4 separate regions of the Homo sapiens genome follow, and regions 1, 2 and 4 are each linked to region 3. The links are contacts of gene promoters, found by promoter capture Hi-C in blood cells and fetal thymus (Javierre and others, 2016). All regions are on one chromosome and are shown on one strand. The core of a region is centred on a gene start or on the middle of the fragment in contact, and the rest is flanking DNA. Distances in the headings are between cores, read along the strand shown.

Region 1 (3,744 bases), core at 604-3,103, 550 kb after region 3:
GGTCTGGGGAGATGTTTTAATGATCTGGTCTCGGAAGCTCTTTTCCAGGGACCTCGCTTGCCTTCTCTGCTCAAGGTGCACCCCCTGATGGCCCTGAAGCCCCAGCAATCTCATAGAGCTCCAGACTGAAGGTCTGGGAGGATTCAGGCCATCTCACCCCACTTCCTCCCAAAGTTCTGGGAAGAGGGTCATATAAAGGGGCTTCCAGTGGTGTTGAGAAGGACCAGGTCTGAAGGGACACTCGACACGTGGTGGGATGAGAAAATCTTGGCCATGGTCACACTGGAAATCACACACAGATGTTCAGGGGACAGACTCCGAAGTCACACAGACCCGGGTTCCAGTTCCAGTTCCGCCATTTCTCCACTGTGTGACCTTGGGGATGCCATCCTCTGTGACTCCACAGTGCCGGGCTCCTCACACGGGACACTGCTGTGGCTGCCAGCAGCATCCCCACAGTCTCCATCAGGACGGCCCGGCTCACAGCCTCGCTCAGGGGTAGCTGAGACCCCTGGGGTGTTTGTTTTGTTTTCTTTAATTGTGATAAAATACACATACCATAACATTTCCCGTCTTAACCATCCTTAAGTGTACACTTGAGTGGCATTCAGTATGTTCACATTGTCACGCACCCGTCACCACCACCATCCCTCTCCAGAACTCTTCATGTTGCAAAACGGAGTCTCTGGGCCCACCGACTTCCCAGTCTCGCCTCCCCTAGCCCAGCCCACCGATGGCACCCCCTATTCCACCTTCTGCCCCTGTGAATCTGGCGACTGCAGGAGCCTCCAGAAGTGGAATCCTTCCGTATTTGTCTTTCTGTGTCTGGCTTACTTCCCATCGCGTGACGTCCTCCAGGCCCATCATGCTGCAGCGTGCGCAGGAACTCCTTCCTCTCCAGGGCTGACTCACGTCCCGCTGTATCAGTGCACGTTCTGTTTGCTCATTCTTCTGTCCGTGGACGTTTGGGTTGCTTCCACCTTTTGGCTGTTGCGCCTGGTAGTAATTCTTGACTTCTGTGGGGCTCAGTTCCCCTGATCTATAGGAAGAAAAGAGTAGAGAGAAATGAAAGCACTTCACAGACTGTTGTGTGGATTCCATGAACCCCCTGTCCTCAGGGGCTGGCTGAAGGGAGGATCAGGGTTGGGCTGAGGGCGGAGCAACCAGTCAGGAGCCCACAGGAAGCAGCCAGGCCAGTAGGGTGAGAGGGAGAGGCCTGGGCAGGCTGTCCCCAGTGCGGCTGAGGTGGGGTGGCTGCAGGTTTGTGAAGGGACCTTGATAAGACGGGCATTGCTAGAGGGGACGTCCTTGGGGAGGGAGGTGCCGGGAGGGCTGGGCGGGGGGAGCCACTTAGAGAGCCAAATCCTTGCAGCTCAGGCCTCAGAGGAAGCCTGTTGGGGTTCGAGGCCCCCCTTTGGAGTTGATCAGCGGCGTGAGTTCTCCACCCCAACCAGAGATGAGATTTTTATGAGTTAGAAATGGTTTCCTTTTGTCTGGCCTCCAACAGTGCTGAGAAAGCCGTAGGCCTCCCTGGAGTTGTTTACTGTGCTGATGCTGCTCTCAGACGTCCAGAGTCATTGGGCAACGAGCTGGAGCCCTGGCTGGCCTGTGCTAGACCTGGCACCCTGAAATTTCATTGAGAAACCTCATTCCCAAAGAGCTCAGCCTCTGCATTCTCATCCAGAGGTTCACAGACAGGCAGTGATTAGGGACACGGGAAAGCTCCCGGCTTCCCACGGGGCTGCCCTTGCACTTTGCTCAAAGTGCAGTCAAGGGCTCCGTCGGCGTCTCAGCACCTCGAACCTGCCTGCAGTGTTGCTGAGGTGCAGTCACTGTGTCTCCAGCTTCACCCACCTGGGGACTCATAAGAACCAGTTACGCAGGCCGGGCGCGGTAGCCCACACCTGTAATCCCAGCACTTTGGGAGGCCGAGGCAGGTGGATCACCTGAGGTCAGGAGTTCGAGACCAGCCTGGCCAACATGGTGAAACTCGGTCTCTACTAAAAATACAAAAATTAGCCAGGCATGGTGGCGCGTGCCTGTGGTCCCAGCAGCTCGGGAGGCTGAGGCAGAGGAGTCGCTTGAACCTGGGAGGCGGAGGTTGCGGTGAGCCGAGATCACGCCACTGCACTCCAGCCTGGGCAACAGAGTGAGACTCCGTCTCAAAAAAAAAACAAAACAAAACAAAACAAAAAACAGTTACACAGTGGCTCAGGCCTATAATCCCAACGCTTTGGGAGGCCATGGTGGGATGATCACTTGAGCCCAGACGTGTGAAGCTGCAGTGAACTGTGATCACGCCACTCCAGCCTGGGTGACAGAGTGAGACCCTGACACACACACACACACGAAAGAACCCACTTACATTAAAGCCCCGCATTACACACACACACACACACACACGCGCACACACACACACACACACACAGAGGAAAGAACCCACTTACATTAAAGCCCCGCATTGTGATGGCCCAGAGGCCCCTGCAGCCAGTTATTTCTTGGGGTCCCAAAGAAGCACCCCTTTTGTACCCCAGGCTGGTGTGTCTGCTGCCAGCTCATCTGGTTCATGATTCCGCAAGGCAAGTCTAGTTGCCACCACTCCCAAACCTCTATCCTCCCGAGTTGGAAACTCTAAGGTTCAATGAGGTTGAGTAAGTTGCTCAGAAGACACAGCTTCCCCACCAGTCAGGTTCTTCCCCTCCTGCTCTGGCATACCCCTCGCCCCAGCCTCTGAAAAGAAGTTTTGCAGATGCCACTGTGGTGGCACCCACGGTGAAATACTGTCGTTCCCCAGCAGCCAGCCCCTAGCTCAGAGCCGTGTGGGTCCCATGCAGAGTGGGGGACAGTGGCCTTCTCCCAGCCCAAGGTGGTCTTCAGCGCTAGACCCTCTAGCTGGGACAAGTTTTCCAGCAGCATCCGTGGGCAAGACCTGTCCTATCCCTTGCAGCCTCAGTTTCCCCTTCTCCACATGAGCAGATCAATCAAGACAGACTCCCAGTGCCTTCCTGAGTGTCTGAGTCTCAGGCAGCAGCAGGAAAGGTTCTTCTGCTTGTAGAAAGAAGAAAAACAAGAAACAAGCAAAAACTCTGAGGCCAACCACCTGGCCAAAGGCCTGGTTTTGCTTGTTGGAGCCAGGTCTTAGCTGCAGCCAAGCTGGCCCTGCTCTCCCAGGGGCCGGGGCAACCTGCTCCACACCAGGCCCAGATGCCCTGGGGCACAGCCAGCCCCAGCAAAGGGACCACATCCCCAGAGGAACAGCCTCCCTGGTCGCCAAGGCCGCCTGCCCGGTAGCTCAGCATATGGGACACAACTGTCCTTGCACTTGGGAGCCACAGACTATGAAGGGCTCCAGGAGGCTCTAGCAACACAGCCTTAGGTGGGCCCCTTCACCTGGCTTAGCCCCAGAGTTCTCATCTGTGCAGGGAACACTAGCACCTTCTTCAGAGGACTGGCGAGGCAGAAGGTGAGCCTGCGGGGCGGGCACAGGGAGTCCTGGAGGAAAAGGGTCCCAAGTTCATGCTCACTGGGTGAGCAGCCGGCTTGGCACCCAGTAGATGTTGAACCCAGGTCACTGCCCATGGTGGGCTCTCGGCACCTGATAGTCCAGAGACTCAGGAGAGGCCGTCCGTCCTGCCCCCACTCCTGCGGCTCCTGCAATCCAGTCTCCAAGCCCGCCTGGCCTCTCTGTTGGTGGAAGCAGTGGAGTGGGAGCCCACAGTCAGCAGGGAGTGCAGCTCCGGCACA
Region 2 (3,591 bases), core at 967-3,466, 630 kb before region 3:
AGCCTCTGGGTATAAGCCTTGTGTCCTAGGTTCTGGGTATAAGCCCCGGGTCCTAGGTTCTGCATATAAACCTTGTGTCCTAGGCTCTGGGTATAAGCCTTGCTTCCTAGGCCCTGGGTATAAGCCTAGGGTCCTAGACTCTGGGTATAAGCCCCGGGTTCTAGGCTCTGGGTGTAAGCCCCGCCTCCTAGGCTCTAGGTGTAAGGCCTGGGTCCTAGGCTCTGGGTAGAAGCCCCGGGTCCTAGGCTCTGGATACAAGCCTTGTGTCCTAGGCTCTGGGTATAAACCTTCTGTCCTAGGTTCTGGGTATAAGCCTTGTGTCCTATTCTCTGGTTCTCAGCCCCTTGTCCTAGGCTCTGGGTATAAATCTTGTGTCCTAGACCTTGGGTTAAACCCCATGTCCTAGGCTCCGGGTATAAGCCCTGTGTCCTTTCTGCATATAAGCCTTGTGTTTCCTAGGCTCTGGGTATAAGCCCCATGTCCTAGGCTTTGAGTATAAGCCCCATGTCCTAGGCTCTGGGTATAAACCTTGTGTCCTAGGCTCTGAGTATAAGCCCCACGTCCTTTCTGGGTATAAGCCTTGTGTCCTAGGCTCTGGGTATAAGCCCCATGTCCTAATCCCTGGGTATAAGCCCCGGGTTCTAGGCCCTGAATATAAGTTCTGTGTCCTTTCTGGTTATAAGCCTTGTGTCCTAGTCTCTGGGTATAAGCCCCATGTCCTAGGCCCTGGTTATAAGCCCCGAGTTCCAGGCCCTGGGTGTAAGTTCTGTGTTCTTTCTAGGTATTAGCCTTGTGTCCTAGGCCCTGGGCATAAACCTGTGTCCTAGGCCCTGGGTATATGCCCCAGGTTTTAGGCCGTGGGTATAAGCCCCAAGTCCTAGGCTCTGGATAGAAGCCCTGGGTTCTTGGTCCTGGGTATGAGCCCCATATCCTAGGTCACCAACCAGATTGAGAGCCCAGTCAAAGTTCTTTCTCATGGTGTGTCTAGGACGTCAGAAAACCTAGAGATGTGGCCGGACTCTGAGCCCCCTGAAAAGGGTTCCCAGACCTTTTGTGAGAGGGAGGCTTTGTCTGCCCAGAGCCCACCTAGTCTTGGAGTCTTGGAAGGCTGCCCGGCACCTCAGGTAGGCCTGTTTGCACCTCAGCCTCACCCTGGTCTGGGTATCCACTCCATACAGACATGTTTTTAAAAATTGAGGAATAGCTTTGTGCAGTGGCAGTATCATAGCCAATGAGGTTTATCCGAGGCGTGATTATTGCTAATTGAAAAATTGAGGAATAGTTTAGTAAAACACACAGATCTTAAATATATAATTCAATGGCTTTTTACAAATATCTATCTGTAGCCAACACCCCAATCAAGGCAGAAAACATTGCCACCATTGTAGAAAATTCCCCCCAATCCCTTTACAGTCTACTCAACTTCCCTTGTCCCCTAATCCCCAAGCAGCCACTATTCTGATTTGCATTCCAGAAAAGTAGTTTTTCTGGATTTTTTTTTAACTGACTTTCGCTCTTGTCGCCCAGGCTCGAGTGCAGTGGCGCAATCCTGACTCACTGCAACTTCCACCTCCTAGGTTCAATCAATTCTCCTGCCTCAGCCTCCCAAGTAGCTGGGATTAGAGGCGTGCACCACCACGCCTGACTAATTTTTGTATTTTTAGTAGAGACGGGGTTTCACCATGTTGACCAGGCTGGTCTTGAACTTCTGACCTCGGGTAATCCGCCCACCTCTGCCTCCCAAAGTGCTGGGATTACAGGTGTGAGCCACCGTGCCCAGCCTGGTTTTGAATTTAATAAATCTGTATGACATCCTTTGTATGGCTCCTTCAGTTCAAAACACTGTGTTTTTGTTGTTGTTGTTGTAGAGATGGAGTCTTGATCCATTGCCCAGCCTGCTTTCAAACTCCTGGGCTCAAGCAATCCTCTGCTCTTGGCCTCCCAAGTGTTGGGACTGCAGGTGTGAGTCATCGCACCAGCCAGAGTCCAATCGTGTCTCTAGTGAGAGCAGCCACTTTAATATAAAGGCTCAGGAATTCCTCCTCATGTTTGCTGCAGTGGCACTTGCCCTCTGAGTATCAGTTAGCTATTGTCACACTTATGCTGTGTAACAAACCATCCCCACATCTCAGTGGCAAACAGTAATAATCATTTATTTCTTACTCATGAGTTTGTGGGTTGGCTGGGCAGCTCTGCTCCACATGCCTCTCATCCTCTTCCTGGGACCAGCAGGGGCAGTTTCGTCTCTGGCTGATGGCAGGGCCCTGAGAGACGGCACATCTAACCCCACAAACACATTTCCAGTTTTGCTGTGTCATGCCTGCTGGCATCCCTTTGGCCAAGCCCAAAGTCAAGGGGTGGGAAAGGGAGGCTATGGCGAGGGTGTGAGTGTGGGTGAAAAACTGGGGCGGGTCATTCAATCTATGTTACCAGTTTCCTGACAATGTAAGTTAAGAGAAAGAGCTTTGTGGCTGACGCCTGTAATTCCAGCACTTTGGGAGGCCGAGGTGGGCAGATCACAAGGTCAGGAGATGGAGACCATCCTGGCTAACACGGTGAAGCCCTGTCTCTACTAAAAATACAAAAAATTAGCCAGGCGTGGTGGCGGGCACCTGTAGACCCAGCTACTCGGGAGGCTGAGGCAGGAGAATGGCGTGAACCCGGGAGGCGGAGCTTGCAGTGAGCTGAGATCATGCCACTACACTCCAGCCTGGGCGACAGAGCGAGATTCTGTCTCAAAAAAAAAAAAAAAAGGTAAAACTGGTTTGGTTTGCTAGTCCAATTATTTAGTGAATCAGTCCAGTTTATTAGAAATCCCAATGAGGTTGTTTTCAGAAGTGAGACAGGTCTGACCGGATCATTTGCAGAAAGCTCTGTTCTTGCTTTGGGACAGTCCTGCCCGCACTGGGAATGTGAATTTAATCGCCGTTCTCTCGCCGCTGCTCCTGCCCGCCTGGGACCAATTCCCTACCACACTGAGCTCATTGGAGACTTTAGTTTCATATTTTTAAGACCAGTTTAGTGCATCATCTCTGTCTTTATTTCTCCCTCCAGCACTTACTGTAGTTGATCTCTTTTATTTTCTTAGATTCTTTGGGGGGAGTTTATAGGTGGGATGAACCCATATATGCATGAAAATGTCTTTATTTTGCACCCCCAATTTAAGGCTAGATTGGCTGGGTCTTGGATCCTAGATTACGAATAGTTTTTTCTTTGGAATGTTAGAGAAATTGCTCTACTATCTTTTAGGATTCGGGATTGATGATAAGTCTTGATGTCAAGCTGACTTTCATTCTATTGTGACAACCTATTCTCTCGGTCAGAAAACTATGAGGATTTTCCTTTTTTCCTTGGTATTCCAAAATTTTGCTGCAATGTGCCTAGATTTCTAAAATTCCACTTTACTTTTTTTTTTTTTTTGAGATGGAGTCTTGCTTTGTCATCCAAGCTAGAGTGCAGTGGGGTGATCTCAGATCACTGCAACCTCCGCCTCCTGGCTTCAAGTGATTCTCCTGCCTCAGCCTCCCAAGTAGCTGGGATTACAGGTGCGCCACCATGCCAGGCTAATTCTTGTATTTTTAGTAGATAAGG
Region 3 (3,525 bases), core at 676-3,175:
GGAGGTGGGCACGGCTGTTATTCCCATTTTACAGGTGAGAAAACTGAGGCACAGAGAGGTGAAGCCCAAGGCCCACAAACAGCAACAGAGGAGATGGGTTAAAACGCTGCCATCTGGCTTAACAGCCCTACTTCCTAACTACCACCTACGCTGCCTCTGCACTATTGCTATCCCATGAAACCCTTCCTGCCGCTAGCTGAGGGGTCTTCTGTGTCCTGCGAGTCAAGCGACCTCTCCAACTCTGTTCACTCTCGTCTCAACTAGAAAGGGTGGCCTCCTCATTCCCACTACACAAAAATGAAAACGGTCTACAATAGATTTCAAGACAGTGATACAAGCAAAGAATATGATTCACAAAGTTAAGAGGGACAAAAAACTAACAACGATGCGTTGGAGAAGCCTGGGGAAGGGGTGGTGTTATGAGGATTCTCAGGGGTGAAAAGAGAAAGTATTCCTGCGAAGGACAGGAACGGAGACATGGGTGAGTGGAGGAGGCAGGGATTTTTCCCACGTGTGTACGTTTGCTCTTAGTGACAGACAGACTTGTGGTATCTTACTTGTCAAACTAGTCACACAATGGATGAAGATTCGTGAACAAACTGTTAATTAAAAACCACTAGACACGGGTGGGGAGGGTGGGTGGTCCTCCCTACAGAATCCACCAGTCATGAGGGCGGACCAGCTCCTCCAAGAGAAAAGGACTTGGGCTCCATCCTGGCTGGAGATGGTCCCGGGTGAAGAACTCCAGTTAGTGGGGAAAATCCATCCACTGGGATCTGGGAGGGCAATGAGCTCACCTGGGGCCTCGCTTCCCGCTGCCCAGCAGCCATGTCCTCTTTCTGGCTCTCCCGGGAGGACGGCGCAGTCTCCAGAAGGCAGATCTGAGAAGAAAAAGGGAGCCAGGAAGAACCCCTTCTGCTTTCCAGCCCTGGAATCCGCAGCTCTAAAACCCCGACTCCCGCTGAGAAGGACCCCGCGCGCCCTCACAGGGATTCGGGAGGAGCCAGGAGCCCGCGGACCAGAGCAGCGCTGGGCCGCCCGGCCAGGCCCAGGCCCCACAGGCTTGGGGCTTACGGAGGGGACGCTGGACCCGCAGTGGCAGCAGCGACCCGCTGAGCCCACCAGGGCCAGGGCTCGCCCCACGCCGCTGAGTTCCTCGGCGCCAGCTGGCACTGCCAGCACCCACTGCACCGCTCAGGAAACTGAGGCAGCGCCGGGGCACCTGCCCCGTTCACGCCGCTGCGAGGCGGGCCGGGACTCCCACCACGACGGCCCCGGGACGACTTCCCTCCGCCTCAAGCCTTTCCCAGCCGGTTCCTCTCTCTCCCGCCAACGAATCGTCTCCCGACTCCACGGAAAACGGCTTTGAAGAGGAAAGCGCTGGGTGTCCCGAGGCAGGAGGAGTGGCCGTCCTGGGGACTGACTCAGAAACCGGGCCCGGCTGCCTCTGCCCTGCGCTCGGGGTCCCGGCGCCCCGAGTCCGCGAGGCCCACACGGCGCGCGCAGGGTGGGCCCGGGAGGAAACGCCTGGCCCCGCGTTCACGGCGGGCGGCGCGAGCCAGAGGCAGGGGCGTCGGCAGCGGCACCGGAGCGGCCCGTGAGGGGCGAGAGTCCAAGTCCTGGCGCGGGGGCCGGTGACAGACGCGGGGGTGCCCCCCCGCGCCCACAGAGGCCCTCGGAGCCCCGCGGCCTCAGGTCGCCCTGGCGCCAGGCGCCGCCTCCTCCCGGCACAGCCAGCCATGCCGCTCACCTCCCCAGGATCCCGCGTTCCCGGGCCGCGCCTCCCCGCCGCACTCTGCAAGCAGGAAGCTCCAGCCTCGTGACCCGGCTCCTCCGACGTCTGGGCGACCTCAAGCCCGGCGCCGCTCACCGGGCAGCGAAAGCTCCGCAGAGCGCCTGGGACCTAGAGGAGCAAGGCGGCCGCTAAGGCCTCTAGGAAATGGAGTCCACGGGAGGACGCTGGCTTTCTGGGAAGTGTAGTTCCACGCGTTTGAGGCGAGGTCGCAGCTGAGCTGTTAGGCGCCCAGACCTATGAGAGGGCCCGGGTGAGCTGTAGAGCCCCGGGTTCCTGGTTCTTCGGAAGAGAAGGGGAGGTTCCCGGAGGGCAGTAACTTGCAACTCTGTGTGTGAATTTCAGGATGGCGTGGGCGGCACGAAAACAACTACTACACAATTGGGAAAGGAAAATCCCCTGCAAAAGATGTTGACAAAGCTGGATTTCCACGTGCAAAAGATGAGCCTGTACCCTGACCGTACACCATACATAAAAATTAACTCAAAATTGATTAAAAACCTAAATGTGAGACCAAATTATTTTATAAATTACTAAAGTAAAAAGGGAAAAAACTTCAGGATGTTGGAGATGGCAATGATTTCTTGAATATGACATCAGAAGCACAGATAACAGCAAAAATAGACAAATGGGACTACATCAAACTTAAAAACTTTGGCTAATCAAAGGAAACAAAGGCAATCTACAGAATAGACGAAAATGCTTACATATCATATATCTGATTTGCAATGTATCCTGGATTTATATGGAACTTTTACAACTCAACAACAATAACAAAACCAAATAACCTGATTTTAAAATGGACAAAGGACTTGAATAGGCAATTCTCCAATGAAGATATACAAATGAGCAATGAGCAACAAGCATATAAAAAGATGGTAAACATCTCTAGGTATAAGAGAAATATAAACCCAAACTCAATGAGAAATCACTGCACCTCCATTAGGATGGCCACTATCAAAAGGATGTAAATTGGTACAATCATTACAGAAAACGGTATAGAGGTTCCTCAAAAAATTATAACTAGAGCTACATTAGGATCCACCAATCCCATTTCTGGCTATAGATCCAGAGGAAGTGAAACTCCGTGAGATACCTGCACTCCCATGTTAGCTGCAACATTATTCACCATGGCCAAGATATGGAAACAACTATCTGTTGATGGATGAATAGATAAAGGAAATGTTTTGTTTGTTTGTTTGTTTGGGACGGTGTCTTGCTCTGTCACCCAGGCTGGAGTGCAATGGCGCAATCTTGGCTCACTGCCACCTCCGCCTTCCAGGTTCAAGCAGTTCTCTGCCTCAGTCTCCCAAGTAGCAGGGATTACAGGCACCCGCGACCACGCCCAGCTAATTTTTGTAGTTTTAATAGAGATGGGGTTTCACCATCTTCACCAGGCTGGTCTTGAACTTCTGACCTCGTGATCCACCCTCCTCGGCCTCCCAAAGTGCTCGGATTACAGGCGTGAGCCACCGAGCCCGGCCACAATGTGTTTATATACACAAAGGAATATTATTCTGCCTTAAAAAAATAAAGAAATCCTGACATATGTGACAATATGGATGAACCCGGAGGACATTATGTTAAGTGAAATAAAGAAGGCACAGAAATACAAATACTGCATTATTTCATTTACACGTAGAATCTAAAATAGTCAAAATCATAGAAGAAAGTAGCATGGTGATTTCCCTGTGTGTTAATTACCAATCTTCCCATATAGGTAATTCCATATG
Region 4 (4,058 bases), core at 72-2,571, 580 kb after region 3:
GGAGAGATGGACCTGAGCTAGAATTGCAGGCTCACGGGCTCACTGACGCTTGCAGCCGCCGGCAAGTGAGAAAATAGATGAGGCTGGTTGGGCGCAGGAGAGCAGAGAAAACGGCAGGGCCTGGGGTGAATCGGGGCACCCGCCCCATCGGGGTGCAGTTCCGCACATGCAGTCATCACTACCACATCTTCCAACATTTCCAGAGAAGCTGGAAATCCAAATTCTATAAAAATCCTTTGCATTTTTAAGGGTTTCAACCAGTTCTTTACCAGTGGGTGACAATTGTCTGTGGAAACCAAGGAGGGCCCACCCCACAGCCTAGGGGGCAGCTCTCAGGGAGGCTGGGAAACCAACCATGCCCCAAGGGTGGGGCAGGAGGGCAGAGCTTGGCCTGGGCATGGTCCAGGGGCCACAGGGCGAGGCAGAGTGACTGCAGCTTCAGTGTGTGCTGCGAGCTGTCCTGGTCACGCTGTCTCCCTCTAGACTGCCTCGTGGAGTTTGGCCACGCTGTGGCGGTCACCCTTCTGTGAAGGTCACACTTCCCGTCAGCTGCTGCTCCCTACTCTGGATTTCCACCCCATCCACGGCTGGCACCAAAATGAGCTGATGGTGTGTTCCCCCAGACTTCCTTCCACCAGAACAGCCCTCTGTGCCTGAGCTGGTGACCTGGGCAGCTCAGTCAGACACATCCCGGCCCGCCGGTCCCATCCTCCATCCTCCCTCACCCCACGGGGGTCAAGCTCTTTCCTCTCTGCCACCTTAATGAGGAACAGTATTTTCTGATACCTGACAGGGTAATCATGTCTCTCCCCACCAGTCATGGGCAAATGTGTCATTTCAGCAGGTATTTTTGGGATCGGTTCAAAGGCACAGTGCTGTAAACACCACCTCTGCTAGCCATGATGTGTGACATGGACATACATGTAATTACTTCCAGCACACTCAGGCATCACCGAGCAGGTCCTCTCCCCAAAATAGAAGCCAGCCGGTTTCACAGCCTCACAGCATCATAGAGCTGAAAGGGCCCTGGGAGACTTTCTAGGCCAAGGGTTACAAATCAGATGCCCTGCAGAGCTGGCGAGTCACCTCGCCATGGGCAGCAGGCTAGGCGTGAGACCACAGGGAAGGGTGGAGCCTGTGGACCAGGGTCTGCGAGATCTCCCGGCTTTTCAAGAAAAGCCCAAACTCTGGACGTTTATGTAAAAGGTTGCAATTTTTAAATGTGACTAATTCATTTGGTTTGGGGTTCTTTGTTTTTTTGTTTGTTTGAGACAAAGTCTCGCTCTGTCACCCAGGCCGGAGTGTAGTGGTGCCATCATAGCTCACTGCAGCCTCAACCTCCACGGTTTAAGCAATCCTCCTGCCTCAGCCTCCTGAGTAGCGGGAGCTACAGGCATGTGCCACCACACCCAACCTTTTTTTTTTTTTTTTTTAGAGATGAGGTCTCACTATGTTGCCCAGGCTGGTCTTAAACTCCTGAGCCAGGGTAATCCTCCTACATTGACCTTCCAAAGTGCTGGGATTACGGGCATGAGCCGTTATGCCCAGTCTGGGTTCTTTTAACTGCACGGATCAAATAAAACCTGGCTCCCAGAAAGACATTGCCCAATTCCAGCCCCTCACACTACAGATGAGCAGCACAGAGGGCAGCAGCCCAAGCAAGGCCAAGGAGCACATGAGGGGCAAGTCTCTGACCTTGGTGCAAGCGCTTGGGACCCCACCCAGCTGAAGCTCCTACAGTTTGCTGAGTTGAGGTGCATAGGTCACTACAGAGCCCACTCTACAAAATGCCCTAGGTCCCAGGAAGAAGTGCTCCAGGAGGAACATTGTGCCACCCTCAAGGCACCAGCAACAGCTGGGCTGAACCTAACTTTGAGGGTCTTTTCTTCCTTTCCCTAGCACAAAGAATTTGAGTTTGGGAAATTGCTAAGCCCCGGACAGTCTTGCTGCAGCCCATGTGTGTACAAAGAGCCTAGGCTGAGAAATCAGAACCGTATGGTGCTGACCCGCCCTGAAGGGGGCTGCCCACCCACCCCTTATCCACCAGCCGGCTCTAATGAGAGCTGGGAGGAGGCTCAGGGAACCTTCACACAGGAATGTGCACTTCCCAGGCTGGGACCTCAGGCCCCACCAGCCTTGTAATTTGATGAATTGTCAACATCTGGGGTGTAATTACTAGGTCCTGGCCTGATAATCCTGGTAAGCCCTTCTTCCAGGGGCCTTGTCCTAGTGCATTTTGAGGGCTCCGTTCCCTCACAGGAACCGTCAGCATTAATTACAGCCAGAAAGCAAGACAGGCCCCCAGCTCTGGCCGATTTGAGCGTTTACTCCTGTCTGCTTCTAAACGCGGCCAGTTTATTTGTTTGGTTCAGTTCAGCAGATGCTGGAGCCGATCTTGGGGAGTGCTGGGCCGCAGTCAGGAGGACAGGGCCAGCCCTGGACCTTTCCCTAACATAGAGCAAGAAGAGCAGCACAGGCTTTTCCCGGCAGATGAGCATCAAGACACTCCAGGGATGGAGCCACCATACTCCACATCCCGAATGTACTTCACCAGGAAACCTCCCCTCTGTAGCCACACGGTTATAGGACCACCAGTTTCAAATGCCCGCTGCGTTAGTACCAGGCCAATTACACTGAGACAGCAGGGTTTGCTGCAGAGAAAGAGTTTAATGATTGCAGGGCACCCAGCAAGGAGATGGAGGAGACCCTCAAATCCATCCCCCCAAGGAGTTCTGGGCCAGGGTGTTTAAGGGGATCATGGAGGGTGAGGGGCTGGAAAATTGGGGTCATTGATCGGTCAGGACCGGGGGGCTGAAATCAGCAGGATGTGGAGACCGCACTCCGGTGAATCAGCTCCCGTGGGATCCTTCCGACCAGCTGACTTTGTAGTTTCACTGGTGTGCAGGCTCTGAAAGAGTAGGGAAAAGGTAGTTTTTTACGTTCAGATTGGTATCTACGGAGCAGTTAAGGGGAACCATGACCCTGTAAGAGAACCTGCGCGATTCTGAGGCAGCAGGAAAACAGTTCCGAGAAGGGGTCAGGGAGCACGCTGACCTCATGATGATGCTGAGTGTGCCACAAGCTTGGTTTATTTTTGTTCCTCCCCCTCCCTTCTTCCCTAATTAACTTTATAACGTTTATAGGGCTGGTTTCAACACTTGTTAATATGCCTCAAAAGATGGCTCTGTGAACCCGGCTTAGGAAATACGCGACAGGCCGAGGGAGGGAGAGAGCAAAGCCTCAGCTTCACAGGTGGCAGAGCTGGCGGCACCGTCCAGGGTCCTGCTGCCGGCCTCTTGGAAGGCCACACACGGGTCGCTCCCAGCACTGTCCCCCAGGGCCAGGGCAAACCCTAATCCAGTGTCTGCTTGCCCGTGGGGCTTCGCATCTTGCATTGGTCTGGGAAACAAAGGCCACTGACCTGGGACCCAATTTGAACTTGTTGTTTGAGAGGAGAATGGCATGACCTGCATTTCACAAATGAGGAAACTGAGGCTCGGGGACACCCCAGTCCCTGAGCAAAGCAAGGGACTGAGGCAGCACCAGGGCTGGGGGAGGGCTGCCCATCCGGGGTCCCAGGACAGGTGGCCGCCTGGCCTGCTGCTCATGTGCAGCCCAGAGCTTTGTTTGTTTCTCACACATCCGGAAACATCCCGGAGCCCGGCTGATCTCCATGGGGAAAGAGTGATTTAAAGCAGAACCAAGGCTTGTAAACAGCTGTGGGGTTTCTCAGAGGGCAGAAGGCGTTGAAAACCTCTGGTGGATTCAAGGGCTTTGATCAGGCAGGGGAGCGAGCTGGACAGTCATGAGCATCTCCAGGCACAGTGCTGTGGCATCCATAGATGAGGAAGCTGAGGCTCAGAGGAGGGATTTGAACCTGGGCCCTGCAAGGCTGAGCCCTGGCCTTCGCTCTGTGAGCTGGTGGTAAACCTCCCCGAGCTACTTTCCTTCCCACTCCTTCTGTGGGAGATGCTGGGAGAGGAACGGGGCAGCTGATGGCCGGTGCCCTATTGTCTGGGGCAGGGGAGGGCTGCCTAGATAGGGGAGACCCCCCCCAC

What was found. Contacts are between HindIII fragments. The CHiCAGO score rates a contact against its expected background, and 5 or more counts as called.
Region 1: a fragment that was not itself captured here is called in contact with the fragment with the promoter of ZNF354B in region 3 in 1 of 17 cell types (neutrophils); the score reaches 5.1 in neutrophils.
Region 2: a fragment that was not itself captured here is called in contact with the fragment with the promoter of ZNF354B in region 3 in 3 of 17 cell types (endothelial precursors, M1 macrophages and M2 macrophages); the score reaches 10.4 in endothelial precursors.
Region 4: a contact is called between a fragment that was not itself captured here and the fragment with the promoter of ZNF354B in region 3, in 1 of 17 cell types (monocytes). The highest score is 5.0, in monocytes.

What each region holds. Positions count from the first base shown.
Region 1 is chr5:178,310,169-178,313,912 of GRCh38, reverse strand. The region is part of intron 2 of COL23A1 (collagen type XXIII alpha 1 chain); the gene reads left to right. Among named protein-coding and RNA genes, the nearest start is that of PHYKPL, 79 kb to the right of the region's middle. RefSeq lists an enhancer at 802-1,304. The HindIII fragment of the contact is 6,207 bases long and covers 1-3,744 here.
Region 2 is chr5:179,489,769-179,493,359 of GRCh38, reverse strand. LOC124901224 (U4 spliceosomal RNA) reads left to right here and starts at 1,203; the gene lies at 1,203-1,345. The HindIII fragment of the contact is 5,384 bases long and covers 1-3,591 here.
Region 3 is chr5:178,858,353-178,861,877 of GRCh38, reverse strand. ZNF354B (zinc finger protein 354B) reads right to left here and starts at 1,925. Exons shown (of 5, transcript NM_058230.3): 1 at 1,751-1,925; 2 at 798-881. The coding sequence starts at 830. RefSeq lists silencers at 1,359-1,438, 1,519-1,718 and enhancers at 1,859-2,058, 1,343-2,075. The HindIII fragment of the contact is 7,869 bases long and covers 1-3,525 here.
Region 4 is chr5:178,274,576-178,278,633 of GRCh38, reverse strand. All of the region lies in intron 5 of COL23A1 (collagen type XXIII alpha 1 chain), which reads left to right. Among named protein-coding and RNA genes, the nearest start is that of PHYKPL, 44 kb to the right of the region's middle. The HindIII fragment of the contact is 3,526 bases long and covers 1-3,084 here.